Linked DNA regions of Homo sapiens: regions 1 and 3 are each linked to region 2. The links are contacts of gene promoters, found by promoter capture Hi-C in human tissues and cell types (Jung and others, 2019). All regions are on one chromosome and are shown on one strand. The core of a region is centred on a gene start or on the middle of the fragment in contact, and the rest is flanking DNA. Distances in the headings are between cores, read along the strand shown. Region 1 overlaps SND1 (staphylococcal nuclease and tudor domain containing 1). Region 2 holds the start of LRRC4 (leucine rich repeat containing 4). Region 3 overlaps SND1 (staphylococcal nuclease and tudor domain containing 1).

Region 1 (4,682 bases), core at 415-2,914, 92 kb after region 2:
GCTTGCACATGCTGCCCACATTGGACACTTAAGTGTCTTCTAATTCCCATGTTAATGCTATTTATTCAAATTCCACACAAAGAGCCAGGCCCAAACTCTAACAGATCCAGCCCATCTGACTGGGGAAGCCTCAGAAAAACTTTTGAAAGAAACTCAAGGTGAGCAATGACCTGGAGTTTGGGGAAGGGGGCAAACAGCTTTTCAATGATGAAGAATGGTTTTATTTATTTATTTTTTAAACCCAGTCAAATCTGGTTGAAAGGGGTGGGAGATTTGTGAGGTAGTTTCCATAGCAACCAGGATTAAGTCTTACAGCAGTGTGCACTGTTCACCCTGGCGCTGCCCATTACCAGATTTCAAAGCATTAACCTTTAATTTCAAATTACCAAACCATTTACACTCCCTCTCCTGCATCCAGGTCCTGCCATTTTCTACTATTAGTCTGACCAAATGGACTCCCCCACAGGGCTGGAGTTCTGGTGAGTAGCACAGTAGCTTGTCAACATTACTACTAAGTGGCTGCTGGGAAATGCCCACAGGTTGACAAGATAGTGTTGAATAATCTACACTGAAATGTATTCCTCTGGGAAAGCCACAAGAAGGGACTTAGAACTGAGGCATTTAGGCACAACCAACGAGACAGGTGCTGTTTTTGGAAATAATCCAACAGAGAAAAGCCATCAGATTTCTGGAAGTTTCCCATTCCATCCCCCAGTGCCCACCAGGTGGAAGGCAAGCCAGACAACCCTGCATAGACTCAGACAGAACGCGCTTTAAAGTAGGAGGGAAGGAGAAGGGCCCGAAAAGGAACACCTAGGGAAAAGCTCACAGGACTGACCTTCTCTACTACTCCACTGGCCTCATTAGCTCTGCATAGGACAGGCCTCATTTTCTATCCAGGATGTTTTCTCCCCTTGTCTCATCAGTATTAAAACATGAAAGCATAAGAGTAAAAAGCACAATAGAACGCTTTAGAGTAGAAGAGTAGAAACACTAGTCAGAGAATTCAGGAGGAAGGAAACTCCTCACTGACCTACCCATCCAAAGCTAATCCACAGGCCTATCATCTAACAGCAAGGGTAAATCAACATCTATCTTTTCTTGGCACATAAAACCCAGTAGATGGTAAGGGCTGAACACCCCAATCAGGAGGCCACACCATCCTCCACAGTCTGACTCCATAGAAGGCGATGACACCACTAGGACTATCTTTTGCTAGTTATAGGAGGCCCTAGATAGGCTGGCACATAAATGCCACATCGGCCTTGCTGTCTCCCTCACCTCCAGGTCACCAGCATCACACCAAGATAAGCAGGCCAGTCTGACGGAAATAATTAATTAGGAAGCAGGAGGGCAAGAATTCATCTTTAAGTGTTTTAGCTCCAAGGTCTGTGACTGCCATTAAACCAGGCCAAACAAATCTTATTTTTAGTGATGACTTTATTTATTACTCTGGAATGGGTACTGAACAAATCATGTTTCTCTCTCTTTTACCCTGAAACACTAGATTATGTCATGGAAGTCTGTCTTTTAATTCCTACTCCCAATCTTCAGGTATTGGCATGCTGAGGCTCTTAGCATCTTTGTTCATCCTCCTCTGATCTGACCACCTGCAGTTTCCTGATGTCCTTCCTAAAAGGATGGTCCTCAGATGGTACACCGTACCACCAGGAATGCAATGACTTGGGCTGGGTCAGTACCTGGCTCCACTCCTCTCTGCGTTCTGTATTTCCGAGTTTTGAAACAGCCTTTTTGACAGCAGTTACATATTTACTCTTATTGTTTTATAAAATCTGAGCTGTTCTCATTTGTATAGTATTTAAGCCATGTTTTGCTTACCCTTATGCTTTTAAAATATTTTTTTCTTCATGTCAATACATTCTTTACTCCAGTAGACACAATTACTTTGCTCAAAGGCTGGAACTGTATCATCCATTTCTGTATTCCTAGCATTGTGCCCACTGAATATAAAAAAAAATTATTAAATAACCATGTAATTGAATGACCCACAAGTATGATGAGGCTCATTCTGGGGATGATTCATGGTGTAAAGATGAAAATAATCCTGGTGTAATTGGAGGTTTCATTCACATGACCAGTGGGTGACAGTGTGCCTGCATAGACGGAGAGCTGAAGGTGGAGCAGTGAAGGCTCAATAGCAGAAGAGCTAAGAGGGAGATTTACACACCAATACAAAAGCGGAGAGAAAAATGATTGATTAATATGTCCATTTCTTTTAGGCAACTCTTCCTGAGATCTGATACAGGCCAACTTCTTCTGCCTAGATGAATCAAACCCAGTCTGCCCAAAGAAAATGTAGCAGATCTTCTCGGAAACTCAAATGCCATCGCCCTGAGGAAAACTTTTCCATTCAACAATTGTTATTTGCTCTGTATTCTCATACTAGGTGGCCTATGCTTTTGATAACTGCTCTTTCATATTTCCTTGTTTACATTATTTGTATGGCCATCTACATAACTAGACTAAAAGATATTCGAGGGAGAAGTTATCCTACTAATTTATGTATCATCCAAAATTTATCTATTGAAGACTACTTTTCTTAATCTGTGCTTGTAAAAATCTTGTACTCATTAAAAAACACTACCCAAATCTGTTCATTGTGTTAATTCTTTCCTGTAAGTGACTCTCCAGGATCCCCGGACATGAACATAATTCTTATAATTCCTATAATGATATCTTTAAAAGTAAAGAACTAGAGCAGCTCCAGGAAAGTCTCATGTTAAGCTGCCCATTTCTAGTAATGGGACCCAACAGAAAGTAGGCAATGGAGACAGAATCAAACTGGGATATCCCAAGAGAAAGAATACCCCACTTTACAAATATCCATTAAGTTGCAATTCAATTAAAGCATCTGAAAGGAATTCATAAGTATCAGCAGACCCTGTAATTGCTTAATTAAGGATAGAAGCCTAGCAAACACAACCACAATAACAGCCTGATTCATTAGCACCTCTGTGATAGCAGAATGGGATTTCTCACTTAAACATACATTGGCTTTAATTGTGTAATTTAGTTAGGCACTGGTAATCAATGGGGATCCACCATTCCTGGGACCAGGAGATGAGAAGGATATTCCTGTTCACCTTCCCTTCCCTCCTCTCATTAGAAGTTTTTGGTCTATTGAAACAGGCAGTTGATATTCCAATGAGGATTGGCTAGAGAAGAGATCTTAAAGGAAAAGAAGGAAATGAGGAACTTCATTCAAAGGCATTCAGGGTGAAAGGACACACAGCCAAACCTTTAGTTCACCATGCACAAGCCCACCACCATTTATCAAATCCTAGACACTTAGAACTTTTCTCAATGCCTCCTTTGTCATAATCCAGCTCCAGAAAGGGAGGGAGAGGGAGAGAGAGAGGAGAAGGGACAGGGGGAGGGAGAGGGAGAGGAGAAGGGAGAAGGGTTGGGAGACGGAAAGAGAGGAAGGGGGAGGGAAAGAAAAATGCTAAAGGGCAGGAAAAGGGAAGTCTCATTTTCTTGTCTTATTTCATATGAATAGGTAACTGGTTAATTATAAGTCACCTGCTGTGATCCACATGGGAACTCCCTGCCAAGTGGCTGCTGCCTTCTAGATGGTTTGTACTATGAGTTCCATGCAAGGTGACTGGCATCCATTTCCTGCCTGCCTCACCCTGTAATTCCTCAAACTTACTGCGGTACCACCTTTAACACTAAGGAAATGCAAACACGGCATGGTGGACTCACTCAGTGAGTTGACAGAAGACTCCAAATATCTGATATAAGGCTCCTTAGATCACTTTGCACTGAAATCTCAAATTATTATTCTCTTCCAATTCAGGAGAAAAGTATTTGGTTTACAGGCACCATGCCTTGATACCTGCTATGCTCATCCAACAGGGCCACTTCCTGAACTGTGCCTGCAGCATGACCCTGATACCTAAGATCTAATAAGGGAATTACAATAAGGACACTCAATATAAAGTTCATAGTAATAAGACAAATACTCCACACCCACTGGGGGCTTTTAGGTAAAAATGTGAGGCCATGTGTCATGGTTCATGCTTATAATCCTAGCACTTTGGGAGACTAAGGCAAGAGGACTGCTTGAGGCCAGGACCCTAAGACCAGCCTGGGCAACACAGTTGAGACCCTGTCTCTACAAAAAATAAAACAATATTAGCCAGGTGTGGTGGCATGCACCTGCTGTCTCAGATACTCAGGATCTGAGGGAGGATTACTTGAGCCCAGGAGTTCGAGATTACAGTGAGCTATGATGGGGCCACTGCACTGTAGCCTGGGCAACAGAGTAAGACCCTGTCTCCAAGAAAAGAAACAAGAGAAAAAAGAAAAAGAAAGTAAAAAATAAAAGCATGACTTGAGAGCCAAATAATTTCCAAATATGTGACTCAATCTCCCCCTAGACAAAATACTAAAGTAAAATGGGACACACATGACAAGTGAAAATAAAAACTGCGTGAACCACTTTTGCTCTCATGGAAGGAAACGTGTGGGGCTCACTAAAGGCCAGATGAGGAAAAAGGATGCTTTTTAACAAATGCAGGCTGCCCAGGGATCTTGGCTTCCTTGCTAACTATGGACAAGAAGTGTCTGTGACTGCCTCCGAGACTGAAATCAGCACGCTTAGGAGGAGGCCACAGCAGCAGGCAGAGAGACCTTGAACAGTCTCAGTTCTGATGCTG
Region 2 (4,615 bases), core at 1,341-3,840:
CATCTGTGAAATGGAGACAAGTGTGGCAATTACTTTCACTGGGTAAATGAAGATTAAACAAGAACAGATATAAGTTCTTGGTATGGTGGATAGTACATAGTAGATAAGCATCCCAGTAAATGACTATTGAAGTGGATGAATGAAACCTGAGTTCTCATCCCACTAGGAGAATACTTTGGGGAATCACTTCCACACCCAAGTTTCTTGACATCTGAGACGTGCTGAGGCTCAAATCCACTATCACTTACTAGTGACCCTAGGCAACGTTTGACTCATATAAAATGAATAATAGGGTTGCAGTGGAATACAGAGTAAGGGTTCAATAAACAGAAACTAACAAGGTTATTATTTGACAGCAAATGATAACAGAAAGGTCTTGGCAAAGAATGGGGACTCCAACTTGCCTACAAAGGAACCGTTTCCAGGACTTCAAGTATTCCATGGCGTATTTAAAGAGGTTCAGGTTACTGGGCAAAAGACAATACTCAGAAATAGGTGTGGTAGAAACCAGAGAGCTGAGAAATCTGGGACCTCCTCGTTCTTAAGCAACAGCCCACGCGCAGGTGATGAGGGTTTATCAAGCGAGCCTGCCAGAAATCACACGGGGAGAGGGGTGGGTTGAGGAGTCTGGAGGCAGCTCTTGAAGGGAAGGGATATTAAACCATGCTATATTCTACTGGACCGGCTTCCCAGGGCTCAGCTAGATTGCCTCACCCACAGTCGGCAGAGAAAGGGGCAGTCTTTTTTCAGGGGGGTGGGAAAAAGCTGACCTAGTCCCCTTCTCCTACACTAGTCTGTCAAATGCCTTAGGGTCTCCTACCAGAAATAGGAGCAAGAATTCCACCCCCACTCCCAATCGCTACCCCTGGCTGCTACGCAGTTCTTCTCAGAGTCCTAGCCAAGGAAGGGCTGGCGAGCTCACAGGGCAGGGGGCTCAGCCGCCCGCCTCCCTTCCCCCAGTTCTCTGGGGGCAGCGGGGAGCAAGGGGCGACTCCGGCCAGCGAAGACTGAGAAGCCGCGGCTGCAGCTCCATGAATGAACGGGCTGTGTCGTGGGCTCCGGGAGTTCACCTCAATCCTTCCTGCCGGCCTCTGTGCTGTCCCAGGTTGCCATTCCCCAGCTCATCACACTTGGTCATTCCTGCCACTGTTTCCCGCCCCCGCAACCCTCATTAAGGAAACCCTCATTTAAAGCCCCAGTGAGAGCACAGGAGGGGTGAGGCAAAGCGAAGGAGGGGCTGGCGGCAGTGCAGCAGCGAAGCCCGGGCTCTCGGTCCTGGGAGCCTCGTGGCCCCGGCCGCCGTCCCCCGAGTCCCCACCACGCAGTTCCGAACTCCGAACGCGAGTCCGCGCCCCGTCAGCAGTCAGCGGGGGTGAGGATGACGCGGGCCGGGCGAGAGGCAGGCCAAATGCAGCAGCCCCGCCGCGGGCCGCCGGGCCCCTGAGCCCCGCTCTTCAGAGCCAGGGGGCCCCGGGTGCGGGCCGGAGGGCGGGGGCCGGCGCGGGCTCTCCCGCCGCAGCCCCGCGCCGCTCCAGCCTATCAGCGGCCACCCAACTGCTCCCTCCGACCGGCCCAAAATAGCTGCGAACGCCTGCGACTTGCGCGCGGCCCCTCACTTGACGCTCACTCCGGCTCGCTCGCCCGCTCGCCCTGGCCCCGCTCCGCTCGTCTAGAGGGGGCGGGGAGGAAGCGGCCCGGGGAGGGGGGAGGGGGGAGGGGGAGAGAGGAAGAGAGGAGGAAGGAAGGAGGAAAGAGGAAGACGGGCGGCCGGAGGCGCGGGGCTGCGCGGCGCCGGCCGGCGCGGCGCTGGAAGGCGCCGGCGTTAACCCCGCGAGGCAGGCGACGGAGGGGGAGCGGCGCTAATACATAAGAGCACTGCATCACGCTAATCTTCTCCCAGAACAGTATGCGTCAGCAGTACATTCACGTTCTGACTGAAGGACAAAAGGATGAGAGAGCAGTCTGCGTGGCTGCCGCCTGCAACACCGCGAGCCCGGCGCGAGGAGGAGACGGTGGGCGCCGCGCGCAGGGGCCCCGCTGCTGCTGCTGCCGCCGCTAGCCAGCGGGGACTATGTTCCTGGGCTCCGGAGCGTTTCCCGCAGCCGCGACCCCCGCTGCTCACGCCGCTGCAGCAGTCCGCTGGCGGCGCGGCCACTGAGGGCGCCGGGAGCCGAAGCCGCGAACTCGCTCCCTCCGCACAAAGCCGGAGCCGGCGGCGCGCCGGGGGCCGGGCAGCGGCGGGCGGCGACGGGCGGTTGCGCGCCGCCGGGGGCTGCGGCCGCCGCCGCCGCCGGACCCGCGCCCGCCCCCGGACTCTCTGAAGGGGCCTGCGGTGCGGGCGCGACCGCGGGCGCCGCGCGCTCCTCCGGCCGGCGGACCGGGTCCGAGCGCAGCCGCCACGCCGCTGGTCCTCGGGGGCCGGACGGAGCGCCGCCCCGCGTGCCGGCAGCCGGCGGACTGGAGAACTGACCCCCCGTTTTTGTCTCTTCCACCCTCCGAGAAGAGGCGAGGAGAAAGGGGGTGTGTGTCTGGGGAGGGCGAAGGCGCCGCGAACACCTCCTCTTAACTCTCGCCGCTCCGCGAGCTCACGACCGCAATCAGCTGCCGCCGGCCCGGAGCGGCCGACGCCGGGAGAGGGAGCGCAGCATCCAGCGAGTGCGGCCTGGGCGGCTTCGGGGCGCCCCCGCACTCCCTCCGGCGGCGGCCCGCAGAGCGGGCCGGGGCCGCCGGAGCGCACTTTGGCGATGAAGCGCCTTCCCCCGCGGCTGGAGCGAGCCGGTGCCAGGGTCCAAGGACAAAGCCGGGAAGCGCTGGTGGCGCCGCTCCTTGGGCGGAGGGGGGGGCATGCACCTGCATAGCCCGCCGGGCCTTGGCTCTCCCAGGCGCGCCTCAACTCCGCGGCTTCGCCGGCTCCGGCTCCGGATTTACTAGAGGCCATTTTGTCTCCCCCACCCCTTCCCTCCCCTCCCCTCCCCTCCCCTCTGCCCTCCCCGCCCCCACCACTTCCCCCTTTTGTTAATTAAAACTAAGAAGTCGGAATGGGAACGAGGTGCCCAGCTCCCGTGGAGAAAGCTTAAGGACACCACGCCAGTGCTTTCCTGCCTTCCTTCCGAGGTAGGTGACGGCGAACTGGGTGGGGACGGTTGCAGTGTGGGAGAGTCGTAGCTTTCGGAGGGCTTGCCTTGAGGGTGGGTTGGGAGACCAGGGGCCGCTCGAGTTTGGCAGGATTTTTTTCGGCCGATCCGCTCCGTCTCTCTAATCGCCCCCTCCCCACCTCCTTCTCCAGATGGAAAGAGGAGCTCCTAGCTCACTTAAGCCGGGGTAGGGCTGGTTCTCCTTTCCGAGCCAAAATCCCAGGCGATGGTGAATTATGAACGTGCCACACCATGAAGCTCTTGTGGCAGGTAACTGTGCACCACCACACCTGGAATGCCATCCTGCTCCCGTTCGTCTACCTCACGGCGCAAGTGTGGATTCTGTGTGCAGCCATCGCTGCTGCCGCCTCAGCCGGGCCCCAGAACTGCCCCTCCGTCTGCTCGTGCAGTAACCAGTTCAGCAAGGTGGTGTGCACGCGCCGGGGCCTCTCCGAGGTCCCGCAGGGTATTCCCTCGAACACCCGGTACCTCAACCTCATGGAGAACAACATCCAGATGATCCAGGCCGACACCTTCCGCCACCTCCACCACCTGGAGGTCCTGCAGTTGGGCAGGAACTCCATCCGGCAGATTGAGGTGGGGGCCTTCAACGGCCTGGCCAGCCTCAACACCCTGGAGCTGTTCGACAACTGGCTGACAGTCATCCCTAGCGGGGCCTTTGAATACCTGTCCAAGCTGCGGGAGCTCTGGCTTCGCAACAACCCCATCGAAAGCATCCCCTCTTACGCCTTCAACCGGGTGCCCTCCCTCATGCGCCTGGACTTGGGGGAGCTCAAGAAGCTGGAGTATATCTCTGAGGGAGCTTTTGAGGGGCTGTTCAACCTCAAGTATCTGAACTTGGGCATGTGCAACATTAAAGACATGCCCAATCTCACCCCCCTGGTGGGGCTGGAGGAGCTGGAGATGTCAGGGAACCACTTCCCTGAGATCAGGCCTGGCTCCTTCCATGGCCTGAGCTCCCTCAAGAAGCTCTGGGTCATGAACTCACAGGTCAGCCTGATTGAGCGGAATGCTTTTGACGGGCTGGCTTCACTTGTGGAACTCAACTTGGCCCACAATAACCTCTCTTCTTTGCCCCATGACCTCTTTACCCCGCTGAGGTACCTGGTGGAGTTGCATCTACACCACAACCCTTGGAACTGTGATTGTGACATTCTGTGGCTAGCCTGGTGGCTTCGAGAGTATATACCCACCAATTCCACCTGCTGTGGCCGCTGTCATGCTCCCATGCACATGCGAGGCCGCTACCTCGTGGAGGTGGACCAGGCCTCCTTCCAGTGCTCTGCCCCCTTCATCATGGACGCACCTCGAGACCTCAACATTTCTGAGGGTCGGATGGCAGAACTTAAGTGTCGGACTCCCCCTATGTCCTCCGTGAAGTGGTTGCTGCCCAATGGGACAGTGCTCAGCCACGCCTCCCGCCACCCAAGGATCTCTGTCCTCAACGACGGCACCTTGAA
Region 3 (4,481 bases), core at 1,452-3,951, 69 kb after region 2:
AAACTATACTACAAGGCTACGGTAACCAAAACAGCATGGTACTGGTACCAAAACAGAGATATAGATCAATGGAACAGAACAGGGCCCTCAGAAATAACGCCGCTTACCTACAACTATCTGATCTTTGACAAACCTGAGAAAAACAAGCAATGGGGAAAGGATTCCCTATTTAATAAATGGTGCTGGGAAAATTGGCTAGCCATATGTAGAAAGCTGAAACTGGATCCCTTCCTTACACCTTATACAAAAATCAATTCAAGATGGATTAAAGATTTAAACGTTAGACCTAAAACCATAAAAACCCTAGAAGAAAACCTAGGCATTACCATTCAGGACATAGGCGTGGGCAAGGACTTCATGTCCAAAACACCAAAAGCAATGGCAACAAAAGCCAAAATTGACAAATGGGATCTAATTAAACTCAAGAGCTTCTGCACAGCAAAAGAAACTACCATCAGAGTGAACAGGCAACCTATAACATGGGAGAAAATTTTTGCAACCTACTCATCTGACAAAGGGCTAATATCCAGAATCTACAATGAACTCAAACAAATTTACAAGAAAAAAACAAACAACCCCATCAAAAAGTGGGCGAAGGACATGAACAGACACTTCTCAAAAGAAGACATTTATGCAGCCAAAACACACATGGAAAAATGCTCATCATCACTGGCCATCAGAGAAATGCAAATCAAAACCACTATGAGATATCATCTCACACCAGTTAGAATGGCAATCATTAAAAAGTCAGGAAACAACAGGTGCTGGAGAGGATGTGGAGAAATAGGAACACTTTTACACTGTTGGTGGGACTGTAAACTAGTTCAACCATTGTGGAAGTCAGTGTGGCGATTCCTCAGGGATCTAGAACTAGAAATACCATTTGACCCAGCCATCCCATTACTGGGTATATACCCAAAGGACTATAAATCATGCTGCTATAAAGACACATGCACACGTATGTTTATTGCGGCATTATTCACAATAGCAAAGACTTGGAACCAACCCAAATGTCCAACAATGATAGACTGGATTAAGAAAATGTGGCACATATACACCATGGAATACTATGCAGCCATAAAAAATGATGAGTTCATGTCCTTTGTAGGGACATGGATGAAATTGGAAACCATCATTCTCAGTAAACTATCGCAAGAACAAAAAACCAAACACCGCATATTCTCACTCATAGGTGGGAATTGAACAATGAGATCACATGGACACAGGAAGGGGAATATCACACTCTGGGGACTGTGGTGGCGGCGGGGAGGGGGGAGGGATAGCATTGGGAGATATACCTAATGCTAGATGACGAGTTAGTGGGTGCAGCGCACCAGCATGGCACATGTATACATATGTAACTAACCTGCACAATGTGCACATGTACCCTAAAACTTAAAGTATAATTAAAAAAAAAAAAAGAAAAGAAATATGCCGCTCTAGTCTTATCTCTGGGTACTCAGCCACCATCCACATTCCATCCAAAGTGAACAACTTGCTGCACCCTGCCCATGCTTTGCATTTTCACACAGCTTAGAATAGAGCTGCCCCAATCTCCTTGTTCAGGTCAGAACATAATGATTTTAGCCAAAGGCTGTTTAACAACTTAGAGAAAAATAGATCAAACAGAATGCGATCATCACAATAAATATAAAGTAATTGTTGATTTGACTTGAGGTTCTAAGAAGGAAGAAAATATGTTCTACTCTCAAGTTTTTTACAGACTCTAAGAGATCATGGAGTCATTTGAACTGATGCTTAGAGAAGCTTTGGCTCAGAGAGGTGTCATTTCAAAAAGGCAAGTTAAGAACATGTTATGCCTGATTGCAAGTTGTAGAGCTGAAAGTCCAGTGGATGAAGCCTCTGTTTTGCCACTCACACAGTCTGTAACTATGACAATGCCACTCCATTTCTTTGTGCTGTTTCCTCATCTACAAAACCAGACAGTCGGATAGTTTTCAATGCTTGCTCCAGAAATAGTGTCAGAGCTGCCTGCAGAGTGGGGATGGAGAATAGACTGGGCCTGATGGTTATGACCCACACCATAACCTAACCTTTCAGATTTATATGCTAGCCAGAAAAATGGTAAGAAACATAGGAAACATGGGCATTCCTAAAGACAGAAAAGCCATACACATCCTGCTTTCTGTTGCCAACAGGCATGTCTACATTTGATAAAGCCTACGCTTTGCCATTTGGGGGAAATACACTCTTCAGTTTTCTTCTTCATGGACAGATAACACATTTTGCCAAAGATGTCTGAGATTAAGGGAGTAGAAATGCAACAACTCTGCACACGTCCAGAGAAATATATACGTATATACAAAGAACCTGGTTTTGTTCAGCCTCAACCAAGATCGTGTATTCTTTTGCTAACACTCCTCTGTTTGATTTGCAGTCAGTTTGCTTACACAGCACTATTTGGGTTTCAAGGCTTAATTTATTTGACTATATTCATTCCCTTTCCCCATCTTCCTTCCAGCACAGCAATTCCAAGCAGAGAGAGAACACATCATACTCCCTTATACAAAGAGTTCCTCAGCTTTATATTAGAACTCTCTGGAATACTTTTTCTTTTTAGTAACCTCAAGAAAAGGCATAAATTATGTGTACCAATGTAGCTGTTCTACCTTTAAATTCTCTCACTCATTTCTAAGAGTTGTGCAATATGATCTTAGGATACTTATAGGATCCGATCACGTGATGCACAGGGCAGGTGCTGAGAGCATTCAGGCCAATCAGCTCTCACAGGTAATGATAAGAGGCGCTTCGGCCAACAAAGGGCAACTCTGTTGTTGCAGGAGGGTGTCCTGTTGATTTTCACGTAGCTTGATAAAATATACCCTTTTTCTTCCAACTAGGTCTCAAAGGTCTGGCGAGGGAGTGGACACTGGCATTTGCACTGATTTATTCTGGTTGAGAATGGACACATAGGAAATGGTAGAAAAGCTTGTTCCAACTCAGGCAATCTTTCTGCTTTCATAAGCCCACAACGATACTAAAAATGAAGCATCAGAACAAACAGAAGCTGATGACGGCAATAGAAGAAAATGAGGCTGATTAGACAATTTCACATGGCAAAAGTAGTATTTAAATTTTGGTTGTTTTGGGTTTAGGTTCTGCTTTCTTCCCTCCTCTCTTGAAAATGAGTGCTTTTGCACGTGTTTTTTACAGTGGCAAACACTTAATCAAAGAATTTAATTTTATTTGTTGTGCTATCATCCTAAGGTTTCTTCTGTTCTCAAGTTTCAGCTTGCTTTTCAAGTGGCTCGGAATAAAGATGCCTGGATCTAGATCTTACTATCATACAGCTTTATTTGTAAAGAAGAAAATATGTAAGTAAACACCATTTGTAGTTACTGTATGAAAAAAATCCTCATTGATTCTTTTAGAAAATACACTTATGTAATATATTACAACTAGATCTTCCTAAGTTAACCAAGTATTGTAGTTTTAATTTTGTGAAGCAGGTGTGTATATATTTTACATTATTTATACATTTAGTAACAATCAGGATAAAATGCTAGGGCTGTGGAAAAACATACAGTGGACCCACATACGAGTGAATTTACACTGTCCAAAATGATAGGGCTGTATTTAATTAATGCCCTCTCTTGGCAGGAAGAAGGAAAGCTGACTTTGTTAGGGTTTGAGGCACCCTCTGCCAGAGATGTGCCTACACCTCCCAAGTCCAGGTGGAGAGGAATGGACACATTTGGTACTAAAAAATTCTTCTCCCAAGACCAAACTTCTCTTGGGATTCCCCTAAGCTTTATCCCAGGATGTTTCTGGGCAGCTGGCAGAATAGTATTGAAACTCACAGAAGTTGAGTTTTCATTTCAATTTCACTGTAGCACTGCAGCACCTGATATAATCCCTTAAAGACTCTCAGTCTGGTCCTAATCTCTCTCCTAAAATACAACACAGGGAAGATCTGAATATAGATTGCAACCTGGTCCATTTGTTCTTCCTACATCAACACAAAGGAATCATGGTGGATACAGATTTAATGTCTATTTTCTCAGCTACTGATAAGCCTAGGGCTACAGAATATAGCTGAATGGAGAACCTCATATAACCAGGCTGATTGCACTTTATTAATTATTCATCATTACTTAACCTCAGGTGGAGACTCAATGCTCAGCAAAACTTCTGCACTCCACCCTTTTCTAGATGACTGTAATTCAATGCTTGCTTTCTTCTACCAGAGATTGGAGATCTGCAAGGAGGAACAGTATCAACCTCCAAAGAGTGTTTTCTAATGTGTACGTTTTGTGTGGGCTGGGTGTCATTTTTGGTTGTGGCAATAGCTGGGGTGGGACGGTGTGCTGCTAATGGCATTTAGTGAGGAAGGACCAATAAAGTGAATGCGGGTAGTCCCACACGATGCACTTACTATCTGTCTTAGGTACTGCCTATGCCCACCATCGTGCTAGGAAATTAGCAATGAGAATCCATTTTAGAAGCTTAAGAAAAACAGG

What was found. The method cuts DNA at HindIII sites, captures the fragments that hold promoters and counts their contacts. A contact is called where the count stands out against the background at its distance.
Region 1: a contact is called between a fragment that was not itself captured here and the fragment with the promoter of LRRC4 in region 2, in 3 of the 25 tissues and cell types used here (dorsolateral prefrontal cortex, hippocampus and pancreas).
Region 3: a fragment that was not itself captured here is called in contact with the fragment with the promoter of LRRC4 in region 2 in 7 of the 25 tissues and cell types used here (H1 embryonic stem cells, dorsolateral prefrontal cortex, hippocampus and 4 more).

The regions. Positions count from the first base shown.
Region 1 is chr7:127,936,187-127,940,868 of GRCh38, reverse strand. All of the region lies in intron 15 of SND1 (staphylococcal nuclease and tudor domain containing 1), which reads right to left. Among named protein-coding and RNA genes, the nearest start is that of SND1-IT1, 59 kb to the left of the region's middle. The HindIII fragment of the contact is 3,683 bases long and covers 1-3,505 here.
Region 2 is chr7:128,029,412-128,034,026 of GRCh38, reverse strand. It overlaps LRRC4 (leucine rich repeat containing 4), which reads left to right and starts at 2,590. Exons shown (of 2, transcript NM_022143.5): 1 at 2,590-3,114; 2 at 3,287-4,615. The coding sequence starts at 3,387. All of the region lies in intron 16 of SND1 (staphylococcal nuclease and tudor domain containing 1), which reads right to left. RefSeq lists silencers at 1,307-1,376, 2,027-2,146. The HindIII fragment of the contact is 14,553 bases long and covers 1-4,615 here.
Region 3 is chr7:127,960,193-127,964,673 of GRCh38, reverse strand. All of the region lies in intron 15 of SND1 (staphylococcal nuclease and tudor domain containing 1), which reads right to left. Among named protein-coding and RNA genes, the nearest start is that of SND1-IT1, 35 kb to the left of the region's middle. The HindIII fragment of the contact is 4,587 bases long and covers 408-4,481 here.